Regions from separate parts of the Homo sapiens genome. Here regions 2 and 3 are each linked to region 1. The links are contacts of gene promoters, found by promoter capture Hi-C in blood cells and fetal thymus (Javierre and others, 2016). All regions are on one chromosome and are shown on one strand. The core of a region is centred on a gene start or on the middle of the fragment in contact, and the rest is flanking DNA. Distances in the headings are between cores, read along the strand shown.

Evidence for each region. Contacts are between HindIII fragments. The CHiCAGO score rates a contact against its expected background, and 5 or more counts as called.
Region 2: a contact is called between a fragment that was not itself captured here and the fragment with the promoter of ZFX-AS1 in region 1, in 2 of 17 cell types (total CD4 T cells and naive CD8 T cells). The highest score is 6.3, in total CD4 T cells.
Region 3: a contact is called between the fragment with the promoter of PDK3 here and the fragment with the promoter of ZFX-AS1 in region 1, in 4 of 17 cell types (naive CD4 T cells, naive CD8 T cells, non-activated CD4 T cells and 1 more). The highest score is 6.9, in naive CD4 T cells.

What each region holds. Positions count from the first base shown.
Region 1 is chrX:24,147,031-24,150,959 of GRCh38, reverse strand. ZFX-AS1 (ZFX antisense RNA 1) reads left to right here and starts at 1,306. Exons shown (of 3, transcript NR_046657.1): 1 at 1,306-1,405; 2 at 2,118-2,207. It overlaps ZFX (zinc finger protein X-linked), which reads right to left and starts at 1,231. Exons shown (of 10, transcript NM_003410.4): 1 at 1,166-1,231. RefSeq lists silencers at 225-734, 785-834, 855-1,264, 1,325-1,684 and enhancers at 775-1,588, 1,795-1,894. The HindIII fragment of the contact is 5,789 bases long and covers 1-3,929 here.
Region 2 is chrX:23,889,712-23,894,185 of GRCh38, reverse strand. All of the region lies in intron 1 of APOO (apolipoprotein O), which reads left to right. Among named protein-coding and RNA genes, the nearest start is that of APOO, 16 kb to the left of the region's middle. The HindIII fragment of the contact is 7,288 bases long and covers 1-4,474 here.
Region 3 is chrX:24,462,610-24,466,613 of GRCh38, reverse strand. PDK3 (pyruvate dehydrogenase kinase 3) reads right to left here and starts at 1,328. Exons shown (of 11, transcript NM_005391.5): 1 at 1,053-1,328. The coding sequence starts at 1,158. RefSeq lists a silencer at 1,268-1,587. The HindIII fragment of the contact is 17,643 bases long and covers 1-4,004 here.

The sequences.
Region 1 (3,929 bases), core at 57-2,556:
TCACTACTTAAATCGTTTTTCAAGAAAGTTGTTTCCACATAAATGAGTACGAATGATTCAAAATTTTATTCCTCCGCTCTCGTGTTGTGCAATTTTTTTCCCTATAGGACAAAAGAATGGCAAAAACTTTCCCATCAATCTTTATTTTTCTTCCTTTATTCAGATACTCGGGGCGGCAAAGATTGTTGGAAAAACAACTGCATCGAAAGCACCTTAGCAGCCACATATGATTTGACTTAAGCAAAAATAACATTTCCTGGGGTCCCGTATGCCCTGGTAAGCCCAGGTGTCCGGAATGCCACCTGCCCCGACTGCCCTCGGGTGGCTACAGGCGCGGGGGAAGGCGCAGGGCCAGGGGCGCTGAGGGTGAAACGGTCCCGGCGTCCGGGCGGCGGCGGTGGCCGCCTGCGGCAGCTCAGCTGAAACGCAGCGGAAACTGCAGCCAGTCACGGGGCTGCGGGAGGCAAGGCAGGAAGGTGGCGCTGCCGCCGAGCGCCTGGAGCCCGAGCGCTCATCATGGCGGCAAGGGCAATGGCCGCCACGGGGAGCGAGCACGCCCCTCCGCGCGCACACGCCGCCGCGCCGGGCCTCCGGGGCCCGTCACCGGCGCCGCTGCCGCCGCCGCCCGCTCTCCCACCCCCCCTCACGGGCTGTAGCGGAATTTTCTCTCCAGACACCGCCTCCAAGATGGCGGCTCCCCCTCCCGGCAACCCCCTCTATCGTCCCCTGCAGCAGGCGCCGAGCCGCCGCCATCTTGTCCCCCGTCCCTCCCCCCCCCTCACCGATATTTACATAGCGAAAATCGGCCCGGCCGGCCTGCGGCCTTCACCTCACGCCTGCAGCCTTCGCCTCCTCGCCAGGCCTCACCCCGGCGCGGTGCCCCAGGTCGGCCGCGGAGCCGACCCGGGGCCCCTCGACCGCCTCCGGCACAACCGGGCGACCCTCCCCCAACCCCCGCCCGCTTACGGAGCGCGCCTCCGCCGCCGCTCGGGGCAGCCGGGCTCCTCCCCGGGCCTAACTGCGGCCTCCTCGGGGCCTGCTCGGCGCCGCGCGCCACGCCGCCCGGCCTAGCGCGGGAGGGCGCCTTGCGGGCCGCCGACCAGGCCGAGACCAGGCCGCTGTGCGCGCACTAGGCCCCGCGGCCGCGGCGGCACCCGGGACTCACCGGACGGACGTGCGGGCGGCCGGCGACGGTGGCGGGTGCTGCAGGCCGGCCTTTCTCTGGAGCACTGGGCCGGGCTCCGGCTGGTGGGGCGGGCGGAGGGAGGGAGGAGGGGCCGAGCTCGGAGCTGACAAAAAGCGGCCCAGCTCCCCGGCACGGGCCCGCCGTCAGCACGTCACGTCACCGCCCGGGAGAGAGACCCAGGAAAATGCGGAAGGGTAGACAGGCCCCCTCCTCCGCCCGGTGGGTCCTCCTGGCACCCCGTGTCGGCGCCGCTCCCGCCCCGCGACCGGGGAGCCCAGTGGCCTCGCTGCGGCGGGGTCTCCGGCGGCCGGAGTCTCCGTGACAGCGCCCCCCTTCTTTCCACCTCCTCCGCGCTCCCGCCCGCCGCCGCCACACACGCGCCGCTGCCGCCGCCGCCTCGGCCGTAAAGCCCGCGCGGGGCCGCGGTCGGCCGACCCCGCGGAGAGGCAGGCGGCCCGGCCGCCCCCCACCATGTCCCGTGGGCCGCGGCCGCCCCCCGGGGGCCTCCCTGGAGACCTACCGCCTCTCGCGCCGGTCCTGGCCGAGGCTCCAGCTCGAGTTGTTTGCAGGCCCTCAGACCCCCGCCCGCAGTAAATGTGTTTTCTTCATCCCCGTGGCTGGGGAGGAAGATAAATTTAGCAACCCCCGCCGTCCCCTGCCTTCGCTTAAAAAAAAAAAATCTTTGAAATAAAATGAAAACGGGCTTGCCAGTCTAAATGGGTGTGCGGGAAGGGGGGTGGAGTGGGGGGAGAAGGGTTATCCCTAGAGCACCTACCAGGCCGTCTACTTTTTAAAAATAAGCAGTCAGAGCCAAACTGATTTTATTAGTTTGTACGGGGGAGGGAGATGAGCAAAGTTGCATTTTGAAACGTTTCGCACGTTGCAAAGAACAGGAATTTTCTGTGTATTTTCCTATGTACCCGTGTTTCAGAGCTTGGGAGCCTGTGAAATGTAAGACTGGTGTCATCGTTTCATAAATCATGAATTTTCCACATTCCTTAATAGAGAGGAGCCCAATTGGGTATGGATTTTTTTTTTTTTAAACACACTGCTTAAACAAGCCTTTTGAAGTTTCAAAAGACTTGGGAGAGAAGGGGAAAATGATTAAACAGCACTTACCAACTTCAAAAATGTGTATTTCGCACTTTACTTAGTTTAAATGTTTATGCTATCTTTCCATGCTGAACTTGGAACCCAAACTCTGTTTTAAAGTTACTAGGGAAAAGTTAAATAGTGGAGTCTTTACATTAATCTGGAATCTGGCATGCTATCCTTTAACACAGCACTAAATGTTAAAGGCATTTTTAAACAATAAGAAACACAAAAATTATAAAGCAAATAGTATACTGGTGTGAAATCTCTTTAAATACAGAGGCCACGTATTTTAGTTGCCTGACATAACTCTTTAAAACTCCCAGAATGCAATTTGTCCCTTCCCTCAGACATCTCTCAATCACAAATGCTTTCAAAAAGGAAAAACAAAAGTAGAGTAAGAAGAAATCTCTGAGCATGCACTGGATGATAATTTTCCTCTCGGGGCTTTAGTCTGAATTTTTCCAAGCGATTAAATTTCCTTTCAAAAATAGTAACAGCATGTATTCATTGTTTATAAAAATTACATCAGGCTGTGATAGACTTTCACAGAAAGACATTTCACAGAAAGGTAAATGAAACTAAGCAATGTTGTTTCAATAAAAAAAAATGAGAAATAGCTTGTGTGCCCACATTAATATTTCTTGCACTCCCAGACTGGAGTGCAATGGCGTGATCTTGGCTCACTGAACCTCTGCCTTCGGGGTTCAAGCGATTCTCCTGCCTCAGCCTCCCGAGTAGCTGGGATTACAGGCACTTGCCACCACGCCTGGCTAATTTTTCTATTTTTTTAGTAGAGATGGGGTTTCACCATGTTGGCCAGGCTGGTCTCCAACTCCTGACCTCAGGTAATCCACCCGCCTCGGCCTCCCAAAGTGCTGGGATTACAGGCGTGAGCCACCGTGCCCGGCCGCCCACATTAATATTTCAAAACATTGATAATCAGCGTTTAAGTACTTTCCAAGGGCCTCAGTGTGATGCTACGGTATGGCAAGAATGGAGGCCAGGTTCCCTGGTTCAGTCCTGTAATCACAGCACTTTGGGAGGCCGAGGCGAGAGGATCACTTGAGCCCAGGAGTTCAAGACTAGCCTGGGTAACATGGTGAGACCTCGTCTCTATTAAAAAAAAAAAAAAAGAAGAAGAATAGAGCCTCACTTCATCCATGCAACTGTAAGCAGCATGTTCAAGACAGAAAAACCTAATGTCACCATTCTTGTTAGTTTTTCCATAATTACCATCAAAAATACTTATACATCCACCAGTGTAAAGCACTTAAGAAAACAGTGTCCAAGGAGCATGAAAGAAAAAGAAGTTTTCTCAGTTTAAAAGATCACAAGTAGTTTAGGGATTGATACTTTCAAAGAGCCCTTTGTCATTACTTTTCATACAGGAAGAGACTGTTAACTTTGGTGGGAAACAAAGAAAGGATGGCCTAGTTCTATTAGATTAGATAAACCTTTATTAAAGTCCAGCAAACTTTATAAAGTCCAGTTATTTTATAGATGACTATACAGATAAGGTCAACTATATTTTTTTTAGTTAAAAAAAGGTAAAGTTGTACTTTAAGCCCATTTATGGAAGTCTGTAAAGAACATTGTTTAACTGGTAAAAGAACAATGGTAAAAATCATTTCACTAGAAGTACACTTAG
Region 2 (4,474 bases), core at 792-3,291, 260 kb after region 1:
GTGACAGGGCGAGACTCTGTCTCAAAAAATAATAATAATAAAATAAATTTTAAAAAATAAATTTCACTTATGAAATTTATATAAATAGTTGTAGTAAATTCCGACTCCATATATGATTTATCAAGGTAACTGCTTTGAAAAGAAAACATCTATTTAAAAAAAATGTTGTAAGTAATACTGAAATACTTTTCCTTGTAAAAAGTCAAAATAGTACAGTTGGTCAGGTTGCTATTGTCCACCTCCCCCCAGCCCCCTTTCCAGAGAAAGCCTCTGTTCTGTTTGGTGTGTGGCCCTACATGTTAGAAAGGATTGCTGGCCGGGCATGGTGGCTCATGCCTATAATCCCAGCACTTTGGAAGGCCGAGGCAGGCAGATCACCTGAGATCAGGAGTTCGAGACCAGCCTGGCCAACATGGAGAAACCCCATCTCTACTGAAAATACAAAAAAAATTAGCTGGGCGTGGTGGCAGGCACCTATTATTCCAGCTACTCAGGAGGCTGAGGCTGGAGAATCACTTGAACCCAGGAGACGGAGATTGCAGTGAGCCGAGATTGTGGCACTGCACTCCAGCCTGGGTGGCAAGAGTGAAACTCTGTCTCAAAAAATAAAAAATATAAAAATAAAAGATTGCTGTATAAAATGTAGATACTGTCCTGAATGCTCCTTATGGAGGAGAGTATTCTGTATTCTTTTGACGTTTCAAGAATTGTGGACTCATTTCTCTTGATTTTTATTTTTATTTATTTATTTATTTATTTTTCAGACGGAGCCTTGCCCTGTCGCCCAGACTGGAGTGCAGTGGCGTGATGTCGGCTCACTGCAAGCTCCGCCTCCCAGGTTTTCTCCTGCCTCAGCCTCCTGAGTATCTGGGACTACAGGTTCCCACCACCACGCCTGGCTAATGTTTTGTTTTTTTTTTTTTTGTATTTTTAGTAGAGATGGGGTTTCACCATGTTAGCCAAGATGGTCTCGATCTCCTGACCTCGTGATCTGCCCGCTTCGGCCTCCCAAAGTGCTGGGATTACAGGCGTGAGCCACCGCGCCCGGCCTTTCTCTTGATTTTTCATTCAATTTACAACACGTTACTGAGGACAACAGTGTAGCCTGATTTTGACAAAATTTTTTTATTGTCTTCATCATTTTGTTGTATTCTGAGTTCTTTCACATAGTTCTTTTTTTTGTGTTGGTTACTTAGAATAAGAATAATCTCAAAAGTATTGTCAGTGTTCATAGTTTGTTTTTTTTTTTTGTAAAAAACCCATTTCAGATTTTTACCTCCTAAATAATTAGAATCAGATTAAAATAGTTTTGTTTCGAGTGAAAAATGCTGTCAGAATGGAAATTATTGCAGAAAAGGTTGACTGAGGCCAGGCGCGGTGGCTCACGCTTGTAATCCCAGCACTTTTTTTTTTTTTTTGTGACGGAGTCCCGCTCTGTCGCCCAGGTTGGAGTGCAGTGGCGCGATCTTGGCTCACTGCAAGCTCCACCTCCCAGGTTCACGCCATTCTCCTGCCTCTGCCTCCTGAGTAGCTGGGACTACAGGCGCCCGCCACCATGCCCTGCTAATTTTTTGTATTTTTAGTAGAGATGGGGTTTCACTGTGTTTCTAGGATGGTCTCGATTTCCTGACCTCGTGAACTGCCCACCTTGGCCAATTCCAGCAGTATGAGAGGCCAAGGCAGGTGGATCACCTGAGGTAAGGAGTTTGAGACCACCAGCCTAGCCAACATGGTGAAACCCTGTCTCTACTAAAATTCCAAAAAGTAGCTGGGCATGGTAGCGGGCGCCTGTAATGCCAGCTACTTGGGAGGCTGAGGCAGGAGAATCGCTTGAATCCGAGAGACGGCGGAGGTTGCAGTGAGTGGAGATCGCGCCACTGCACTCCAGGCTGGGCGACAGTGCGAGACTCCGTCTCAAAAAAAAAAAAAATAATTAGCTGGGTGTGGTGGTGGCTGCCTGTAATCCCAGCTACTTGAGAGGCTGAGGCAGGAGAATCGTTTGAACCCCAGGGGCACGGAGGTTGTCTTGAGCCGAGATTGCGCCACTTCACTCCAGCCTGGGTGAAAGAGCAAAACTCTGTCTCAAAAAAAAAAAAATTTATTTTCATTCTTTATCATTAAAGAGTTGCTTTTATGTTGTCCTTTGTGTGGCTTGTAGGATCATTAAATAAGGTAGAGAATCTCATAAAAACAGTTTTGGAGAAAGATAGTTGAAAGCATAATGTCATACATTTTAAATATATAAATGTAAACTATATATAGAAATACATAAAGTATTATATATACTTAAACTATATAAACTATATTTTTAAGTATATATAGTATGTATAAGTCTATAAGTATATATATACATATAGTTTATATACATATATATAAACTTGGTAGAAGGGTAAGATACTGTAAGTGTATATATACTTACATAGAGAGAGTTTAAATTATTTACATGGAAAATAGAAATAATATATTCCATCACTCCAAAAAAAAGGTCACCTTTGGATATAGCCTGTTTGAAGTAGCAGTTGAAAAGCCTGGTAACATGTCCCTCAGGGAGTTAGAAACACAGGAAACACACAAGCCTGAGGCTTAGGGAGAGGCCCAGGCTAGGGATACTGATTTGAGCATCAGTAGCATATGAGTGGGAGTTAAAGACTTAGATTTTGGCCAGGTGTGGTGGCTCACGCCTATAATCCCAGCACTTTGGGAGGCTGAGGCAGGTGGATCCCTTGAGCCCAGGAGTTTGAGACCAGCCTGGCCAACATGGCGAAACCCTGTCTCTACTAAAAACACAAAAATTAGCTGAGCGTGGTGGCGGGCGCCTGTAATCCCAGCTACTTGGGAGGCTAAAGCATGAGAATCCCTTGAACCCGGGAGGCGGAGATTGTAGTGAGCCGAGATCAGGCCACTGGACTCCAGTCTGGGTGACAGAGCGAGACTCTGTCTGAAAGAAAAAAAAAAGAAAGAATTAGATTTTAATGAAATTGCCCTGGAGTGAGAAGAGGAGAGAGTTAAAGACTACTCCATGACTCATCAACCTTGAAGAGCTATGCAGAGGAAGAGAAGGCCCAAAAGGGGAGGAGAGAGTACCTAGAAAGCCTCTAGAATGGGGATAGGGTAGAATCCTGTAAGCCAAAGAAAGGGGTTGAAGATGTAGAGTAGTCACCAGTTTCAGGGTGCAACCAAGATGCCAGATGTCCAGTGGGGTTTAGCAACTGGGAGGCTATTGGTGGTCTTGGGAAGAAAGGTTTTAGGTGCATTTAGTAGTAAAGGGAGGAGGAGATAAAATTGAGAAAGCAAACAGAATCTGCCTTTTTGACTTTGTGCTTAAATGCGGATGCTCCTCAGCTTGTGGTGGGGTTGCATTCTGATAAACCTATCATAAGTTGAAAATATCATTAAGTCAAAAATTAACACACCTAACCTACCAAACATCATAATTTAGCCTACCCTCCCTTAAATGTACTCAGAACACTTCCAGTAGCCCACAGTTGGGCAGAATCATCTAACACAAAGCCTATTTTATAATAAACTATTGAATGTTTCATGTACATTATTGAATACTGCACTGAAAGTGAAAAGCAGAATGGTTATATGGGTACTCAAAGTGCGGTTTCTACAGAATGCGTATCGCTTCTGCACCATGTAAGGTTGAACCATTTGTAAGTCTGAGACCATTTGTATAACATACATATAGGAAAGTAAACGGGGCATAAGTGAATTTTTACAAACTAAACATACTAGCACTCTAGAAGCTCTTCTCGTGGCCCTTCTAGTCACTACCCAGCTTGCTAAGGGTATCCACTATTCTGCCTTCTAACCATAGTCTACTTTTAAAATAAATTTGTCAATGGAAGTTGGTAGAAGGGTAAGGTAGTTGTTAGAGAGGGAATTAGGGGTGGAGGGTATTTGTTGTGTTTTGTTTAAGACGGGAGAGATTTTCTTGAATGTAAATAAATGTCATAATTTCTCTAGTGGGTGGCCAGTCACTCTGTTTCTTTTTATATTTAGGACAGTTTTCATTTTATACTTTCAAATGTTTTTAAAAGTATGTTTGAGTGCTTATACAAACTTAAGTTGAATAACTGTTCTCTAAGCATATGTTTGTGGAATGGTGGTTTTCAAAACTTTGCTTATCTTGGGAATAGATTCTTGGGCCCCTCTTAGATTCAGAGTCAGACACTCTGGGGGAAGCTGTTAGAATCTATGCTTTTAAAAAATTCCCCAGGTGGGCCAGGCGCGGTGGCTGACGCCTGTAATCCCAGCACTTTGGGAGGCCGAGGTGGGCGGATCACGAGGTCAGAAGATTGAGACCATCCTGGCTAACACAGTGAAACCCCGTCTCTACTAAAAATACAAAAAATTAGCCAGGCGTGGTGGCTGGTGCCTGTAGTCCCAGCTACCAGGAGGCTGAGGCAGGAGAATGGCATGAACCCAGGAGGCGGAGCTTGCAGTGAGCCAAGATCGCACCACTGCACTC
Region 3 (4,004 bases), core at 79-2,578, 320 kb before region 1:
TGCATATCAGGTCTTCCTCAAATGTTCTACCTACTCTGCACTTTAGTTTTTATGCCCAACTGACACTATCACTGACACCCTTGACATTTACATAAAATTCATTAAATGAACAGACACCCTACGATTTCCCCTGGAGAGCTTAGAACATCTTTGCTGCTGGATTTGATTTTCCTCCAGGGATGCTGAGTTCCATTCTGATACCTCAATGCATGCGTTTTACTTTTAGGTGTTTCACAACCAGCTCCTTCGTTTTCTGGGGAAACATGATTCAGTTAACAGAAGGTGGTGGAATCTATTCCCATCTCAGCTAGGCCTGAGGCAGGCTGGGAACCCGAATCTTCTTTGGTCCCACCTCAATCCGTGAAAGCCGCCCACCAGCCCACCGGACAGGGAGAATGTGGGTGGGACACCAATGGAGAAGAGAAACGAAAGGTGCTGGCACTAAAGCCAGAGTTGTATTAGACCCTGCTCTGATGCTAGGATCCCAGACGTCCGCTCTTCCCAAGCATCTAAGGCGTCTGCAGGCCAGGCCTCTAACTGATTTAACATAACCTGATGAAGACAACAGTTCGAGTCCTGCCACTCCAGCCACACAGCAACACCTTAGAGCAGAAAAGGAACAAAATGCCATTGCATAATTTATTCAACCTCAAGGTATTTCTAAACAGTTCTTACCCAACCAAAAAAAAAAAATTCTAAAAATAAAAACATTAAAAAGCCACCCACATCTCGTTCTGAAGTTTTAAGGGCTGTGAGGTTTGTGTCAAGCAGATTTGAAGCTAACGACCGCAGGTTTGGGGAGTCTCGCCTGCGATGAGGGTCCTGCAATGAGACGCCGTTTCTGTGTCTCCGGGTAAGTCCCAGGCTGGGTGCGAGGGGGCCAGGCCCTGCCCCTCCGCGCCCCGAAATCCGAGCCCCAGGAGAGCCCCCCGGATATTCCCTAGCCCCGCCTGCGGTTCCCACAGACTTTACCCCGAAGCTGCGGAGATCCGGGGTGGCAGCCCGAATGGCGGCGGCCCCGGGCCCATGGGGACCCTTGGCCCCGTACTCACCGAAGTCCAGGAATTGTTTGATGGAGAGCGGCGACGGCGAAAAGCGCGAGTAGCGCTCGATCTGCTTGGGCACCGGCTGCTTCAGCAGCCACCGGAACAGCCGCATCCTCGCCCGGGCGGCGCACAGACCCGCCTAGACGCCCGGGTGGCCGCAAGGGCTGGCGCAGCCAAGCCGCACGGATAGGGCACGTTTGCGAAGCGCGCACCCCGGCCTCGATCTCGGCCTCGGCGCCGCCGGTGCAGCCGCCGCAGCAGCAGCAGCAGCTCCAGGACAGCGGCGGGCCGCCCGCGGCTTCCCTAGGCTCCGCCTCGCTGGGCGGAGTCGGTTGCTGCACGTACGCGGCGCGCGAGGGGAGGCGAGGAGCGCGAGGGGCACGCGGCCGCGCGCGCCCTCCACTGATTGGCCGCCGCTGCCTCTGTGACGTTTGTGTTTTGTCCGGGCGCGGCGCCAGAGACCCCCCTCCCTGGCTCATGGGACTCAGCCCAGCCCAGCAAGTGCAGCCGCTTTCAGCTCCGCCTCTGGCTGGGTTCTCCGCTGCCGAAAGGTAGCCGAGGTGCCCGCGGACCGGGAAGAGGCCAGGAGCCCGGAATCCGATCCTCCGCGCTGCTCAAGACCCTTCTCAACCGCAGGCGCCTTTTCCGGGAGGAGGACTTGCCGTTCGCTGCATCCTGACACTTAGATTTTACAGCCTAACTAGACTGACTCTGTTTCGTGGCCCAGCCCCACCCCCACCTCCCTGCCTGACTCCCAAGAGAACACCTTTGGAACACCTTTGGACTGGATTGTTAGTTCGCTGATTCTCTTTTTCGTGGTTCCTTTCCCCTCCTTCCCGCACAAGATTAAGTGACTGATTGCATTTCATGTCCCCCCACCACCACCGTTGGACGGGATCCATTGTGAGGTCAAGGGTCAATAACACCCCCTACCTCCCCAATGCCAGTGGACAGGATAATTGCAAGGTCACTGACTCTGTTTCATACCCCCCCACCCCACTACTACCATTGGAAAGGATCAAATGTAAGGTCACTGGCACTTTCTTTCATACCCCTTCTCTACACCACCACCATAGGACAGCCCCCTTCACGCTTCACCACCACTTTTGGACAGGAGTCTATGCTTACACAGTGTTGGGTATTCTTTATCTCAAGTGAACTTGAGAGCCTGGCATGGTGACATGCACCTATAGTCCCAACGACCCTGCAGGCGGAGGTGGGAGGATCACGTGAGCCCAAAAGTTCAAGATCTGCCTAGGCAACATACCCAGACCCCCCTCTCAAAAAAAAAAAAAAGTGAACTTGAACTCAGGGCTCAGTATATGAAATTGTTATTTCCTATTATGAGTGAATAAAGTACAGCTTACTTTAGCCATTTCCACCAAACCTTGGCTTTTTTTTTTTTTTTGGCAATATGTAAACATAAACATATGTAACTAAAAGGACAGGAAGAATGTTCTTTAAGGAAAGGTACAAATGTGACTGGAAGCCACTCCTTGGGTCTCTGATTGGACTAGTTTTCTCACTGAATGAGATTATTGGTGGGTAGCTATTTAGCTTTTGTGCCTTCAGTGGACGTTTATGCAGCCAATTCTTTGCTTAATAAAATAGTTGCATCTCTACTCTGAATGTAAAGAAAAGTAACATACACAGTAAAAGACCTCGGCCAGGTGCGGTGGCTCACGCCTGTAATCCCAGCACTTTGGGAGGCCGAGGCGGGCGGATCACGAGGTCAGGAAACCGAGACCATCCTGGCTAACGTGGTGAAACCCCAGCTCTACTAAAAGTACGAAAAATTAGCCGGGCGTGGTGGCGGGCCCCTGTAGCCCCAGCTACTCAGGAGGCTGGGGCAGGAGAATGGCATGAACCTGGGAGGCGGAGCTTGCAGTGAGCCGAGATCGTGCCACTGCACTCCAGCCTGGGCGACAGAGCAAGACTCCATCTCAAAAAAAAAGACATCCAGTGGTCTTCTAGACTTTTGGATTTTCAAGAACATCTTGGTCATCTTCATCTTGGTAGAAGTATGTAGACTACCATGTCTTTTCCATTCAAATTAAATCAAAGCATTAAAAAAGACATACTAACAACTTATTTAACCAGGAGCTTTACCAGAAGAGCTAAGTAATCCAGTTGGTGTGCATGGGCAGACAAAGAGAAGACCAGTGGCCTGTGGTTCCTAAAGTGACTTTCAGGTGCTACCTGGAAGTGGAGCGATAATTGGTGGCAGTTGTCAGTGAGCAGGAAGAAGCTGGATGTTTGTGGAGAGGGAGATTTTCTCAGCCTAAGCAACAAAGCGCTGATCTTTCTGAGCTTGCAAATCGCTTGTTTCACTTCTTCCTTTTCCACTGCACAAAATGCTACTTAAAATCCATTCTGTTGATTTGATTATTTAAACTTTCATGTGCCTAATTTTATTTCTGCTTTTCCAAAAGGTGACAAAGTCCTAGAAGTTGGGAACAATATGAAAGAGCCCTATATAATGTAAAATGTGCTTAGACAAGGCTAAGGTCACCTAGCCTGTCTGCGTCACGCTTATTTTTATGTCAGATTAAGATACCTGATTTATCTCCCTGGCATTTGTGACAGTCAAATGAAATAAACCACATGTAATATAAATACAAGGTACTGTACCTCCTGTGTACAGCAATGCATATATTTTTACCTAATACTTTCATGATAACTTGCAGAGGCCAGAAGTGACACCAGTGTGTTGATAAATAGATCTTGATGAACTTTTTTCAACTCCTTGTACACACCAAGGTCTAGTGCAGACCCCACTCCCAGTGGCTTTCAAAAGTGAAATCCCTGGACCTGCGGCAGCAGCATCACCTGAGAACTTGTTAGAAATGCAAACTCCTGGGGCGTCTAATCCTAGCACTTTGGGAGGCAGAGTCGGGCAGGTTGCTTGAGCTCAGGAGTTGGAGACCAGCCTGGGCAACATGGCAAAACTCCGTCTCT